Regions from separate parts of the Homo sapiens genome. Here region 1 is linked to region 2. The links are contacts of gene promoters, found by promoter capture Hi-C in blood cells and fetal thymus (Javierre and others, 2016). All regions are on one chromosome and are shown on one strand. Each heading gives the region's core, a stretch centred on a gene start or on the middle of the fragment in contact. The rest is flanking DNA. Distances are from core to core; before and after follow the strand shown. Region 1 holds the start of TAS2R20 (taste 2 receptor member 20). Region 2 holds the start of PRH2 (proline rich protein HaeIII subfamily 2).

Evidence for each region. Contacts are between HindIII fragments. The CHiCAGO score rates a contact against its expected background, and 5 or more counts as called.
Region 1: the fragment with the promoter of TAS2R20 here is called in contact with the fragment with the promoter of PRH2 in region 2 in 4 of 17 cell types (neutrophils, activated CD4 T cells, non-activated CD4 T cells and 1 more); the score reaches 8.8 in neutrophils.

Annotation. Positions count from the first base shown.
Region 1 is chr12:10,994,210-11,000,870 of GRCh38, reverse strand. It overlaps TAS2R20 (taste 2 receptor member 20), which reads left to right and starts at 2,567. Exons shown (of 1, transcript NM_176889.4): 1 at 2,567-4,910. The coding sequence starts at 2,996. The coding sequence ends at 3,925. The region is part of intron 3 of PRH1-TAS2R14 (PRH1-TAS2R14 readthrough); the gene reads left to right. All of the region lies in intron 3 of PRH1-PRR4 (PRH1-PRR4 readthrough), which reads left to right. It also overlaps a transcript of PRH1 not described here. The HindIII fragment of the contact is 1,654 bases long and covers 2,140-3,793 here.
Region 2 is chr12:10,924,036-10,930,876 of GRCh38, reverse strand. It overlaps PRH2 (proline rich protein HaeIII subfamily 2), which reads right to left and starts at 1,641. Exons shown (of 4, transcript NM_001110213.1): 1 at 1,540-1,641; 2 at 573-608; 3 at 1-215. The coding sequence starts at 1,603. The region is part of intron 4 of PRH1-PRR4 (PRH1-PRR4 readthrough); the gene reads left to right. It also overlaps a transcript of PRH1 not described here. The HindIII fragment of the contact is 3,246 bases long and covers 960-4,205 here.

The DNA.
Region 1 (6,661 bases), core at 1,318-3,817, 69 kb before region 2:
CAAAAAATAAATAATCAATATTGAGAATCCAATAGACAGAGTTAACAACCAGTTAGACATAGAAGAGAGAATTAGTGAATTGGAAGACAACTATAAAGAAAGAAGCCTAAAGAGACCACAAGACAAAGAATGCCAAGCTAAGAGGATAAGAGGCATTGATGCTACAATCAGAGCATCTAACATACTTCTGGATTTCTGGAAGATTAAAAGGGATAAAATAGGGCAGAATCAATGTTGTGGAGATTTTCCCAAAAGTGATAAAATGTATTAATCCATATATTTTTAGTAACCATCAAAGGTCAGACAAGATAACTAAAAACAAATTAACATAAAATGTCACAAGACATCAAAGACCAGTAGAAAATCTGAAAAGTAGCCAGAGGAAAAGATAGATTATTTTAAAAGGAACAACTTTCTAAATGACAACCTGATTTTCAACAGAAAAATGGAAAGTAGAATTCAATGGAATCATGTCTTTAGTGTGTTTCAAAAGAATAGAGGACCTTCATAAACAGAAATCCAAATGATATTTTTCAGATAAAAAATATTGAAAATACAAGGTTAAGCATGCAAGAAGGAATAAAAATTAACAGAAATGATAAATATGTGCATAATTCTAAATGAATGTTGACTGAATAAAATAATAGCGTCTTGCTGAGTTAAATATATTATTGATAAGATATATGCAAATAGCGATAAAGAGACTGGAGGTAAAGGTGACAGGAACAAATTTAGATAAATTATTTTTTGCACTTTTCTATGTCTGTGAGGATAATTTGAACACCACATTTAATGACCCCATAATAGGAATTGCATCAAATGATATGTGAAATAATGCTGATAGTAGTATTATTCATAATAGCTCAAAAATAGACTGCCCAAATATATATTAACTAAGGATGATTGAATGATATGAAAGATTACAGTAAATCCATACAGTGGAACAGTATATAGAGGTGAAAAGAAATGAATCACATGTACATGCAACTATGTAACTAAATTTCAGAAACATGATATCTAGTGCAAGAAGCCATGAACAAGAAGAACACACAGGACTGCACCTATACACAGTTCAAAGCAGGACAGACCAAGCTGTGGAGTTTAGGGTTGTGAACCTAGCTGGTAAAGTATAAAGAAATTCAAGCAAATGATCATCATAGATTATGAATATTGCTTATCTCAGGAGATGTGAATAAAGGTTTAGGGGCTTGGAAAGTGGCCTGGAAGTGGACCTAGTCTGTTTGCAGTGTTCCATGTCTTATCCTGCATGATGGTTACATAAGTGTTTATGATACATTGCTCTTACCTATTTTTGTTTTGGCCCATTTCTAAGTGTGCATTATAATTTTATTTAAAAAATTACAAATTGGGAGAAATGTCACGTAAAAATTATTAATTGCTCTGCTCATTATATACCTAGGGGGAAAATCCACCATTTACGTACATTCTTATACAACTCAAGAGAGCTAAAGTGAATTCTTATTTTAGTTGCAAAATGGAGAAATTTGAGATGCTGTTACCTACAGCCTCCAGATCTTTCCAAAAGTTTTCTTCTAGTTTTAGATATTCACCTCATATTACAAAAACTTTGATATTTCCAACCTATTTTTCCTTTGGCTCCTGAATTTCTGACACAACAAGGGCGCACATATTTCTCAAACTCTTGGATTAGCAGAGTACCTATATCACTTAGCTTTTTCTGCAAAAGAAACTTCTCCAAAACCACATTAGATATTTATATCTCACATGTTTTTGGATTCTGTTTTCTTAAGCTGGGGTTTGGTGGATGGCTCTGGTGATTTGAGATGGTCCAAGTTTTGCCTCTTGGATCTAGTTAGAGTTTGGCCGATTTAAGGCTGGATCAGGCAGGAGCCATATGATTCCATGAGTTACTCATTCTTATTCTGGGAACAGTGTGTTAGTGTGGACATGTTCTCATTATAAACCGGAAAGGAACAAGAAAGCCTAATGTGGAGGTCATCTCAAATTTCGATGTAAAGTGTAGTAATTTTCTGTTCATCAAAGCAAATTACATGATCGAACTCAGAGCCCTAGTGCAAGGTTGTCACTATGCCTGTGGTGGGAGGACACTGCAAAATTATGTGACAAAGGTCTGGTACTCAGGAATGTTTACAAGCTTGCAGGTAGCATTACCAAAAGCCTAAGCATGAGAGATATGTTTCATGAATATTATTCATTGGCTGAAAATCTGGCATGGGAAAAATAGGACTAATTCCACCAGGACGAGCTCCTGGAAACTCATTTTCCATGTCATAAGTTACAAGAAAGCAATTCCTTCCATCCTTGAAGAGTGAAAGTGTGTGTGTGTCTGTGTGTGTGTTTATGAGCTTGTTAATAGTGATGCCATATAGAAGTATTGGTTAACAGCAACCAAATTATAAGGAGTATTGGCTTTCCTGTGGTTTCCAAGAAAATCTTAGGTGATTTTGATAAAAAGTTTAGATTCTGTGTATTTAAATCTGGCTTTAAAAATAAATCCATAGTGATTTTGATCCTAGATTTCACCAGGCTCTTTTAACAATATATTTTTTGTGTCATCTATGTACTGGGTATTAAAATTTCCCCAACAACTGAAGGGCTGAACACAAATTATGGAAAGGTGAAACAAGGAAAAAATTGCAAAGCAATGAAAGAGGATATGTCTTTATTTGAATGCTAGCAAATGAGAATTCAGCTTTCCCTTCAACATCAGTATGAAAAATTTCAGCCTATAGCAAGAATAGAGACTTTATGAATAAGAATTAATTTGAGTTGTTTTGGGACTAACAGTATTTCCCATAAAGGCAGCATTGAACTCATTCATTAGTTTAAGCTGGTGCTTTTCTGTTGACATTGTTCACAGAATTTAAAAGTATAAAGAATGTTATTGGACATTCAGGAATCAAGTGCATATTTAACTTAAAGTCTTGAATATCAGAGGAGTCACCATCAGTGACATTAGGCCTGAATTTTTTACTTGCTTTTTTGTTTAGACATGATGAGTTTTCTACACATTGTTTTTTCCATTCTAGTAGTGGTTGCATTTATTCTTGGAAATTTTGCCAATGGCTTTATAGCACTGATAAATTTCATTGCCTGGGTCAAGAGACAAAAGATCTCCTCAGCTGATCAAATTATTGCTGCTCTGGCAGTCTCCAGAGTTGGTTTGCTCTGGGTAATATTATTACATTGGTATTCAACTGTGTTGAATCCAACTTCATCTAATTTAAAAGTAATAATTTTTATTTCTAATGCCTGGGCAGTAACCAATCATTTCAGCATCTGGCTTGCTACTAGCCTCAGCATATTTTATTTGCTCAAGATCGTCAATTTCTCCAGACTTATTTTTCATCACTTAAAAAGGAAGGCTAAGAGTGTAGTTCTGGTGATAGTGTTGGGGTCTTTGTTCTTTTTGGTTTGTCACCTTGTGATGAAACACACGTATATAAATGTGTGGACAGAAGAATGTGAAGGAAACGTAACTTGGAAGATCAAACTGAGGAATGCAATGCACCTTTCCAACTTGACTGTAGCCATGCTAGCAAACTTGATACCATTCACTCTGACCCTGATATCTTTTCTGCTGTTAATCTACTCTCTGTGTAAACATCTGAAGAAGATGCAGCTCCATGGCAAAGGATCTCAAGATCCCAGCACCAAGATCCACATAAAAGCTCTGCAAACTGTGACCTCCTTCCTCATATTACTTGCCATTTACTTTCTGTGTCTAATCATATCGTTTTGGAATTTTAAGATGCGACCAAAAGAAATTGTCTTAATGCTTTGCCAAGCTTTTGGAATCATATATCCATCATTCCACTCATTCATTCTGATTTGGGGGAACAAGACGCTAAAGCAGACCTTTCTTTCAGTTTTGTGGCAGGTGACTTGCTGGGCAAAAGGACAGAACCAGTCAACTCCATAGATTCACAAGAGGTGCATTGTGTGTTTTCTAGCAGAAAACAAATTGATGGTGTCTGGAACATTTTATATTTCCCACAAGTTTTTCCGTAGTCTATGTATTTGAGTAATTTCCAAAAGTTGACATAGAAAAGTCTTTTACCTAAGTTTATTATATAAAAGTATATATATATAATATACATTTGCGTGTGTGTGTATGTCTGAATGTATATGAAAATTTAATATTTACCATAACATACCTTTAATCAACTTTTCATATAAACTGTTCAGTTATACCAAAGTAGGATAAGAAATTTCTCAGAATTATGAACCCATGTGTATTTCACACATTTTTTTATATGATATTTCATTTGAGGAATTTATGATCTCTATTTATAATTAAGAACTGACAGCTTATATCAGAAAATCATTGCTGTTTTTCGTTGTAAAATCATTGCTGTTTTTCGTTGTAATTTGTATCACGTATATGTACCATAGTGTGTTTAACTGTTTAACTATCATTGTTTGAACCTCTAATTTTTTGGATGGTAAGGACATTTAATTCTAAATCGATGAGAATGTGTCTTTGGGGTAGGTTTTTTTGTTTTTTTTTTAATCATGAATTCTTTTTTTCTTTTTTTTGAGATGGAGTCTTGCCCTGTTGTCCAGGCTGGAATGCAGTAGCACAATCTTGGCTCACCACAACGTTCACCTCTGGGGTTCAAGTGATTTCCATGCGTCAGCCTCCTGAGTGGCTGGGACTCCAGGCATGCGCTACCACACGTGGCTAATTTTTTGTATTTTTCTTTTTTTTTTTAGTAGAGATGGGGTTTCACCATGCTGGCCAGGCTGGTCTCGAACTCTTGACCTCAAGTGATCCACTGCCTCAGCCTCCCAAAGTGCTGGGATTATAGACATTCATGATGAATTCTTATTTTATGTTTAATATAAAGCAAATACAATTATTGTTAGATAACAATGCACAAAATAAAATTCAAGGGTGAAAAATATATCTAGTGTACATTTTTATGTGTATCAAAAGCAATACTGAGGAATATTATATTTAATATAGTATGTTAATAGCTTAGAAAAAATCATTTCTATAAAAAGGATGAAGAAACATGATCATGAGCTCTTTTCAGTGCTGTTATAAGTTTCCATACGCAATTAGAAAAGTCATCTCTTCCAGTTTTTGAATTAAACAAAAACCTTTTTGAAGTTGAGATCTGATGTTATATATTTCAGTTTTTTGTCTAAGCCACCTCTGAGCTCCTGAATTGTCAATTTCCTCCTTTATCTTCCATCCTTAAAATTCCTCAAAAAGCTCAAATTTTCCTTACTTTAAAAAGAAGCTCAATCTAAAGAGGGTATAGAAACTATGGCATCTATGAAATCTATATATTAATGATAGGAAATGTCTTAAAGATATGTTTTATTATAATCTTGGTGTAAATAATGAAATGAGAGAAAGTGTGTTGACATATTCACTAATAGCAAGTTCTATTACAAGAAGAAAATGTATAACCTAGTTCAACAGCTAAATTCTGTGTGACTGTATTAATTTCTGGTGTTATGCAATTTTAACAATATTATCTAAACCTTAAGATAAATCATCTCCACATCTGATTTGTTTGTTTATCATATATCTTACCTGGTACAATGTAAATACCATAAAAGTAGAGATCATATAGATCTTGCTTACTGTAGACTCCCAAGACATAAAGATAGCACATAGAATAGGTATTGAAAAATGATACTTTGATGAACAAGTTAATTGGTGAATGAATGAATATGAACTATATTGGGGTGGTGAACCAATGAAAATGTAACACATCACAAAATCTACAGTTGGGTGCACATTTCTGTTCTGGTTTCAGATTGAAGTTACAGGATTATCCAAGAAGAAGAAGAATTTCTCAGAGCAAAAGTTTGGCTATTCCACAATTCTAGGGGAAATATCACTATAATATAGCAGTGATGCAGCTATATCAGATGTGTGACACAAAGACAAAGTGGAAAATAAAAAGATGGCATTTATTACAATACTTTTTACTAAGCATATAAAAGATTTTTGTATAAGTGCACATATCTTTTCTATTGCGAATGATATATTTATATTGTGGTATTTCTAGCTGGTTATTATATAAACAAAAATGACATTTCATTTAAAAAATTTAGTTACCAACTATCTTACTAAAATATAATCTTTATTTAGTATTTTTAATATCCTTTCTAAATGACCACTTTAATCACCATATTATAAACTGATGGAAAAATGAATGAATAATAATTATAACACTGAATGAATATCTTATCAGGGGTCTAGAAGTAGAGCAAATGTCTGATATTAAAGTGATGACATTTATTTGGAAGGAGGTCCACTGCAGAAATGGCTGGGACATGTGGAAATTGAGTCAAGAGAAGATGTGACACTATGTGCTGTAATGTGTGATATGACTCTGCTGACGACCACTTCACAATGATGTGAGAGAGACAGCATGGTGGTTATCAGATGCATGCACTTGGCTCCCAGGACTTTTTCAGAAGGGCTGCGAGAGGACAACACAGCCAGCATTAGCCCATGGAAGCAACAGAGGACGGAGAATATATCTGCTCAGCTGTCTTCTGTCTTCTATTTCCCACTGGCCAGGGTTTCCCTGAGGCAGAACTACCATCTCTGCTGTTCTGCTTTCCATCATCCAATCCCTTGATGGAGGTTATGAAAGTCAGACCTCATGCCCACAATGTGGTGATCCATTCA
Region 2 (6,841 bases), core at 392-2,891:
TTGAGGAGGAGGGGGATGGCCTCCCTGTTGGGGTGGTCCTTGTGGCTTTCCCTGAGGAGGTGGTGGACCTTGTTGCTGCTGGCCTCCTTGTTGGGGTGGTCCCTGCTGAGGGCCATCATTCTGGTTCCCATCACCAGCAGAGGGTTGAGATTGCTGTCCTCCCAAAGGTGGTCCCTGACGCTCCTCATCTATGAACTGCTCAGAGTCTCCTCCATCTGTGTGAGTTGAAACAAGAAGAGCTGAGCTCATGCTGGAAAACCCTCCTGTCTTCATATCTCTCTGTCTTCACCACACGGCCGGCCCCTCTCTCCCTGACCTGCCTCTCAACTCCCAACCTCCCCCCTTCCCAAGGCTTCCTAATTAGAACTCCTCTTAATCCACATTAGGGTGGTGAAAAATCAAATTTCTTTACTCATGGTCCCCAGAATCAAGGTTGGGAGAAAACTGTTTATATCTCTGGGGCACTGATATTAGCCAATTCCTGACAAGGATGATAAGAAGACACTGGAGAACTGATCAATTTTTCAGGGAAAAATGGAGACAGAGTTTACTGAGAATTTATTGGGATTTACCTGATATTACCAAGGGAACGTCTTCTTGGCTGACATCTAGAAAAGAAGTACAGGATGATGGGAAAAGTTACTGCATGAATCATTCAGAGCTCATAGTGTTCTACGAGGATAAAGGACCTCTGATCACACCCTGTGCATCCCCTTTGAGATCTCATCAGCCACTCTCTGATGCTACCGGAAGTGGAAGAAGATGTAAGGGAAAGCAGGATTGTTACTACACTGAGCGTCAACCAGGAACTCAACATAGAAGGGCCCCTGTTTGTCCTCTCATGATTCCTTAAGCCTTAGTGCTTATTTAGTTAAAGGGCTCTTGAGTATTTCAATGAAATATTTGGGGATCCTTCTGCCCTCTTTCATCTGTAAATATGTTGTTTATGTTTGCAAGCTTTCTCAACAGGAGCCACCAGACATAGCCACTTAGATACAATCTTACAAATGCCCGTCCCAGCACATTAAAATACTACATGCAGGAGAGAAAAAAATGACAATATTTCACTCTGGTGATTCTCTAACTCTATGTAGACAGAGGCAAGTGTTTACCCAATTCTCTGCCTCAGCAATAGCTCTGACATGTGTTTATCTCCTTCATGGATACTCATCCACTGTCCAGCAAGGCCACCATCATCCCTGTCTACTGGGATCAGTATAGGATCTTCACAGCTGCACTTCCCTGAATCTGTCTTGCATTCTCCATATCCTTCCCAGCAGTCCCATGTCTCTATAAATGCAAATCTCACTCTCTCACTCCCCCGGTACAAATTCTTTATTGGGTTCTATTTGTGCAATCAATAAATTATGAGGTCTTGATGAGGAATGAAGGCACAACAGGTCTTCTGATCCTTGGCATGAGAACTCTTCAGTCCTATCTGTTTTCTCATCCTCCTCTCTTCCCTCCACTTTCCCCCTCTATAGCATTCGCCCGTAAACCCCAATCAGAGTCACAATATCTTCCCCCAATTCGGCTTACCTTCATCTAAGTCCTGAGCTGAGCTGAAGGCCAGCAGGGCCACTGACAGCAGAATCAGAAGCATCTTGCAGAAGGCTCTGGTGTCACTCCCAACTTTATGCTGGGAGAAACGTGTCAGCTCCCTTTATAAAGACAAGCAGGACAATGGCGCATTTGAGCTCCCTACCAGGTGGGCCTCCTCGCCTCAGAGACTGGGTTCTGCTTTGCTTACTTCAGGTCAAGTGTATCCCTCATTTCTTCTGGGACTCTAGCCTAGCAGGAAGGGTTGGGGAGGATGTTGTTTGTGGCTAATTTCTAAAAGGTACAACTATGACTTGGACAAATGTTTTGACGGAACTGTGTCCAAGCAATCAGCACAGTGTCAGGATTGAACTTTAGACATCATTTGTTTTTCAATCTGTTTGGAAAGACTGCTATTCTGCTTTCCACTGTGCTTTTCATTTGTGTGTATGTGAGTTTGTGTGGGTGTGTCAGGGGGTTGGGCAGCAATCCTACAGCTAACAGTGAAGACGGTCAATATGTCTGACTCTTTTGATAGCCTATTTCCATCTCTCATGATGTGTGTGCATGGATATTTGTATATTTAGCTAAATTTTTCATGTAATAGAGATGCTTTCTGCTTATCCGTGAGTTGTGTGAGGACAGCACACTGCTGGGTACACATAGATGACAGAAGGCTGCCCCGCAGCCTCCTCATGCTACAGGAAATTTCCAAACTCTGTGAATCTCACTACACTCAGGCAAGCGTTGGTGCTGTACAATACAGGAAAGCTAAAAAATTTGTATTTTAAAAAATATCTTTAGGGATTATTAAAGCAAAACTGAACACAGAAACCACCAAGGAATTTCTAGACCTAAACAAACTGAAACATGGTTCCCAAAGTGAGCCACACGATGTCATGTAGCTAAGACCTCCACTTTCTCCAGAATATTCTATAGAATTCATCATCTACTTTATTTCTTCTAACAAATACCGTAGTCTTCACCACTAATAACTAAGTGGCCATACTTATATATTCAACTTGATGATTTGTAATGCCTGTTCAAGCCTCAAATGCCTTGATTGGTCTTCTGTTTTTTACTCAGTATTTATGTCACCAGTTTCATCAGAGTTTTCTTTCACAAAGATGATTTTTTCTATGATATTCTAATACTAATTCTTTCTCATTCTCTTTCTTACATTCATTTGTTGATATTTTATATGCTGAGACTACCTTGTCGTTTGTAATTTTCTTCCTATATAGTTTTTTTCTCCCCACATGACTTGTGGGAGATGACATTTATTTAATCTTCTAAGCAATGGTGTATGGTACTCCTCACTATCTTTATTTTCATTTTTGTCTCTACAATTGGACAATAAACTATTAAGTTTCTGAAAAATCCTTCCAGGGTCCTGGATTGGTACTCCTCTTCTCAGCTGCTGATTGCTCTGTGATACCTAGAAATTCCCTGTTCCTCAATTCATAAAATATACTACTCGGTATCACCAGCTGCACTTTCCATTTCAGACCTTGTGTAGGCCTTGTGTAATTTTTCACTTTTTGTGCACGGCTAGTGTTTATTTGAGGATAGCTTGGTTGGAGGCATGGCTGAGAGGCCATGTGACAGAAAATCATAAAGACAAGGCCCTAGACAGATGTGCATGGGTGGATCCTGTACTGTGCATACGAGGGTCTGGTCTGGCCCTTCTGAAGAGTTGCAGATAACAAAACAAGAAGGCTTCCTAATAGATTAGATTTTTCTACAGACAACAATGTTCTCATAAGGGACCCAGGCAGACTGATATTTTCCCTGAAATAAATATAGACATATTTGAAGTGGGAATGCATTCTTAATTGGCAATTCTTCTCTGGCCCTGTGGAAACTGGATCAGTTTTAGCTGGGCTTGATGGGTTGTATCTTAGGCACAGGGTAGGTGCTTAAGCCAAGCAGCTCCCAGTGGGTTACTGGGATTATTTTCTTTGGTTTCACCAGATACTGTTTTCCATTAGACCTGGAGATGAGCAGTCCTGCCTTGGTGATTTCAGGTCAACCATCATGTCAAAAAGGAAGGCCAGAGAAAGGGAACAAAGAGGGGTGCCAGACAGATATTGCCTGATGATGTGGGTAACGGAGAAAGCTGCAAGCCTGGTGAAAGACAGATTTCTCCTTGGCAGCAGAGTACAGGAAAAGAACAGGAAATGCTCCTAAAGGTCGCTCAGCTCAGGTCCCTTCCATGACCTTCTCCAATGTCAACAATCAGCAAAAGAGACTAGCATATCAAGAAAGTATAAATACCAGCTATGCTCTCACCAGCCAAATCAAAAGAAGGGGTGATGGAAGAGCTGAAAGGGACACTGTCTGGGAGTGAGTGTGGGTGAAAGGGAGAAGTAGGACTGCTGCAGGAGCTTGGGCACCTAGAGTGGGTGGCAGCCGTCAACAACACAATTCCCTTCTACTATGGATGTTCACATTCTGAGGTCCTGAAGCATCAGTCTTCAACATATGAAATTTTAGGATTCATCTTTCATAACACATCCCAACTTTTTCTCTGTTACTCACAGGTGTTTACCTAGTGGTTCAAAAATCCTCACTCCCTCCAGGCACTACCCATTAGCTTATCTAATTTCTTCCACCTTCAAAATACATCTCAAATGTGTCCACTTGCATGATCTTTACTAGAAGCTTGTTGTTCGGCCCACAATGCTCTCTCCTGGAGGTCTTTAACAGCCTCGACCTGGTCCTGGTAACATTCTTCCCCCAGTACATCCCATATCAGTTCCCTCACGACAATCAGAGTGATCATTTAAAAGTAGAAATTAGATCATATCACCCTTGTGCTTCAAACCCCTTGTTTTTCCTTCTGGACTTACAATAAGGTCCAAATTTCATGACTCAGCTCTTTCACACCCACATGACTAAATCTTTTTTGAAGACCCGGAAGCTCTCTGAATGGAATATAAAGTAGGATCTTCTTCAACTTCACCTTGCTCTAGTTTGCCTGGAATACTGAAGGATGGTTTGCCAGGAAAGATGAACATTGGCAGAGGGGATAAACTTCTCCGAGAGTGAGTGAATTGCATTGAGTTGCTTGTCTGGCAGTTTATGTACATTGGAAGAATTATTGTATTCACTGTATCAACTAAGCAGTCTGATAATACAGTTAGCAAATAAACACAATGGTCTCTGAGACTTCAACTTTGCTTTGACTTGTCTAAAAACTTTGGTTTCACTATCATGGTAATCATCTATATTTTTTAATTTGATGTTGATGACCTATTAATATATATTATACATTTCACAATTAATTATCATATTTCTATTCTTTCCACCTATCCTAGCCAAATTGGTTATAATAGAAAACATTTTTAAACATTTACTATGTTCCACTTAATCATCAAAACCATTATATTAGGGACATATGATTGTTATCATTACCTTAGTTTTATAGATGACATGACTTAGGTACATAACAATGTTCTTATAAAGGTATTAAGTGGAATAGAAGGCAGTCAGTACTCAGAGTTTAGTGTGCACCACTACTCACTTGCTATTCATTTATTCATTTCATTATTACAATATGAGAAGGAATGAGGTTCAGAAAAGAAACATAAGTTCTGTTATTAGGAGATTATCAAGGTTAAGCTTTCCTAAGACTTTAACAGGTGAGGTGAAAAATATATTTTTCCTGAGGAAATAAGTTTGTTTTAAATCATAAGCACATTTACGTAGGCTTCCATTCACCTGTTTTCCTCCTTGCCTTCATATAAAGATACTCATACAAATTTATTCGTTTTTTGTGATTATGAAAACCCAGTCAATGTAGATCCTTTATGTGCTTTCTTAATACAAGCCACATGCATTTTTCTGCTGAGCCATATTAGCATTGGCAAAACTTGAGCCTGTCCTTTGAAATGAACCAAAAATGTTGATTCTCATCACAATGAATGTAAAATTTTAGAAGTCCAAGAGAGAGACTGGCCTGAGATTTGTGTATGAAGGGATAAATTTGTATACCACTTGCACAGATTTCAGTCTTCTGCCTGAGAGTGCCCCTGTGTCCTGGCCCCAGAGCTGGTGTTACCAAAACAGGTCCGGGTCATTGATATTATTACTAAGGTGTTATCTGAGCTCATGGTCTCATGACCAAGAAAATTAAGGAGTGTGGACACAAAAGGGTGAGGTTGGAGCAAAAGTTTAATAAGTGAAAGAAGAAAGCTCTCTGCAGTGGAGAGGGGAGTCAGAGTGGATTGCCACTTTTACAGTTGAATCCACAAGCTTTTATGAGAAACTGCTCTCCAACACATTCAAAAGCTAGCAGACAGCAAGAAACAACTAAGATCAGAGCAGAATTGAAGGAGATAGAGACACAAAACACCCTTCAAGAAATCCATGAATCCAGGAGTTGGTTTTTTTGAAAAGATCAACAAAATTGATAGACCAGTAGCAAGACTAATAAAGAAGAAAAGAGAGAAAAATCAAATAGACCCCCCAAAAAATGATAAAGGGGATATCACCACTGATTCCACAGAAATACAAACTACCATCAGAGAAAACTATAAACACCTCTATGCAAATAAACTAGAAAATCTAGAAGAAATGGATACATTCCTCGACACATACACCCTCCCAAGACTAAACCAGGAAGAATTTGAATCCCTGAGTATACCACTAACAGGCTCTGAAATTGAGGCAATAATTAATAGCCTACCAACCAAAAAAAGTCCAGGACCAGACGGAATCACAGCCGAATTCTACCAGAGTTACAAGGAGGAGCTGGTACCATTCCTTCTGAAACTATTCCAATCAGTAGAAAAAGAGGGAATCCTCCCTATGTCAGCCATTGAGTTGGATCATTGTAGATGTTCATCCCATTTGAGCCTTCAGATGACTGTGGTCCCATCCCTTATCTGATGGCAACTACATGAAATACCACAATGAGAGACTATCCACTAAGTCCAGGCAATTCACAGAATCGTGAGGAAAAAAGTAATAAACTGCTGTTTTAAGCCTGCAATTTGGGGAATGATTTGTTATATAAAAATAGAAACTTAGAATAGATGGAGAAATGAGGCTGGGCTCCGTGTCTCACGCCTGTAATCCCAGCACTTTGGGAGGCCGAGGCGGGTGGATCATGAGGTCAGGAGATGGAGACCATCCTGGCTAACACGGTGAAACCCCGTCTCTATTAAAAATACAAAAAATTAGCTGGGCGTGGTGGCAGGCGCCTGTAGTCCCAGCTACTCGGGAGGCTGAGGCAGGAGAATGGCGTGAACCCAGGAGGCGGAGCTTGCCGTGAGCTGAGATCGCACTCCAGCCTGGG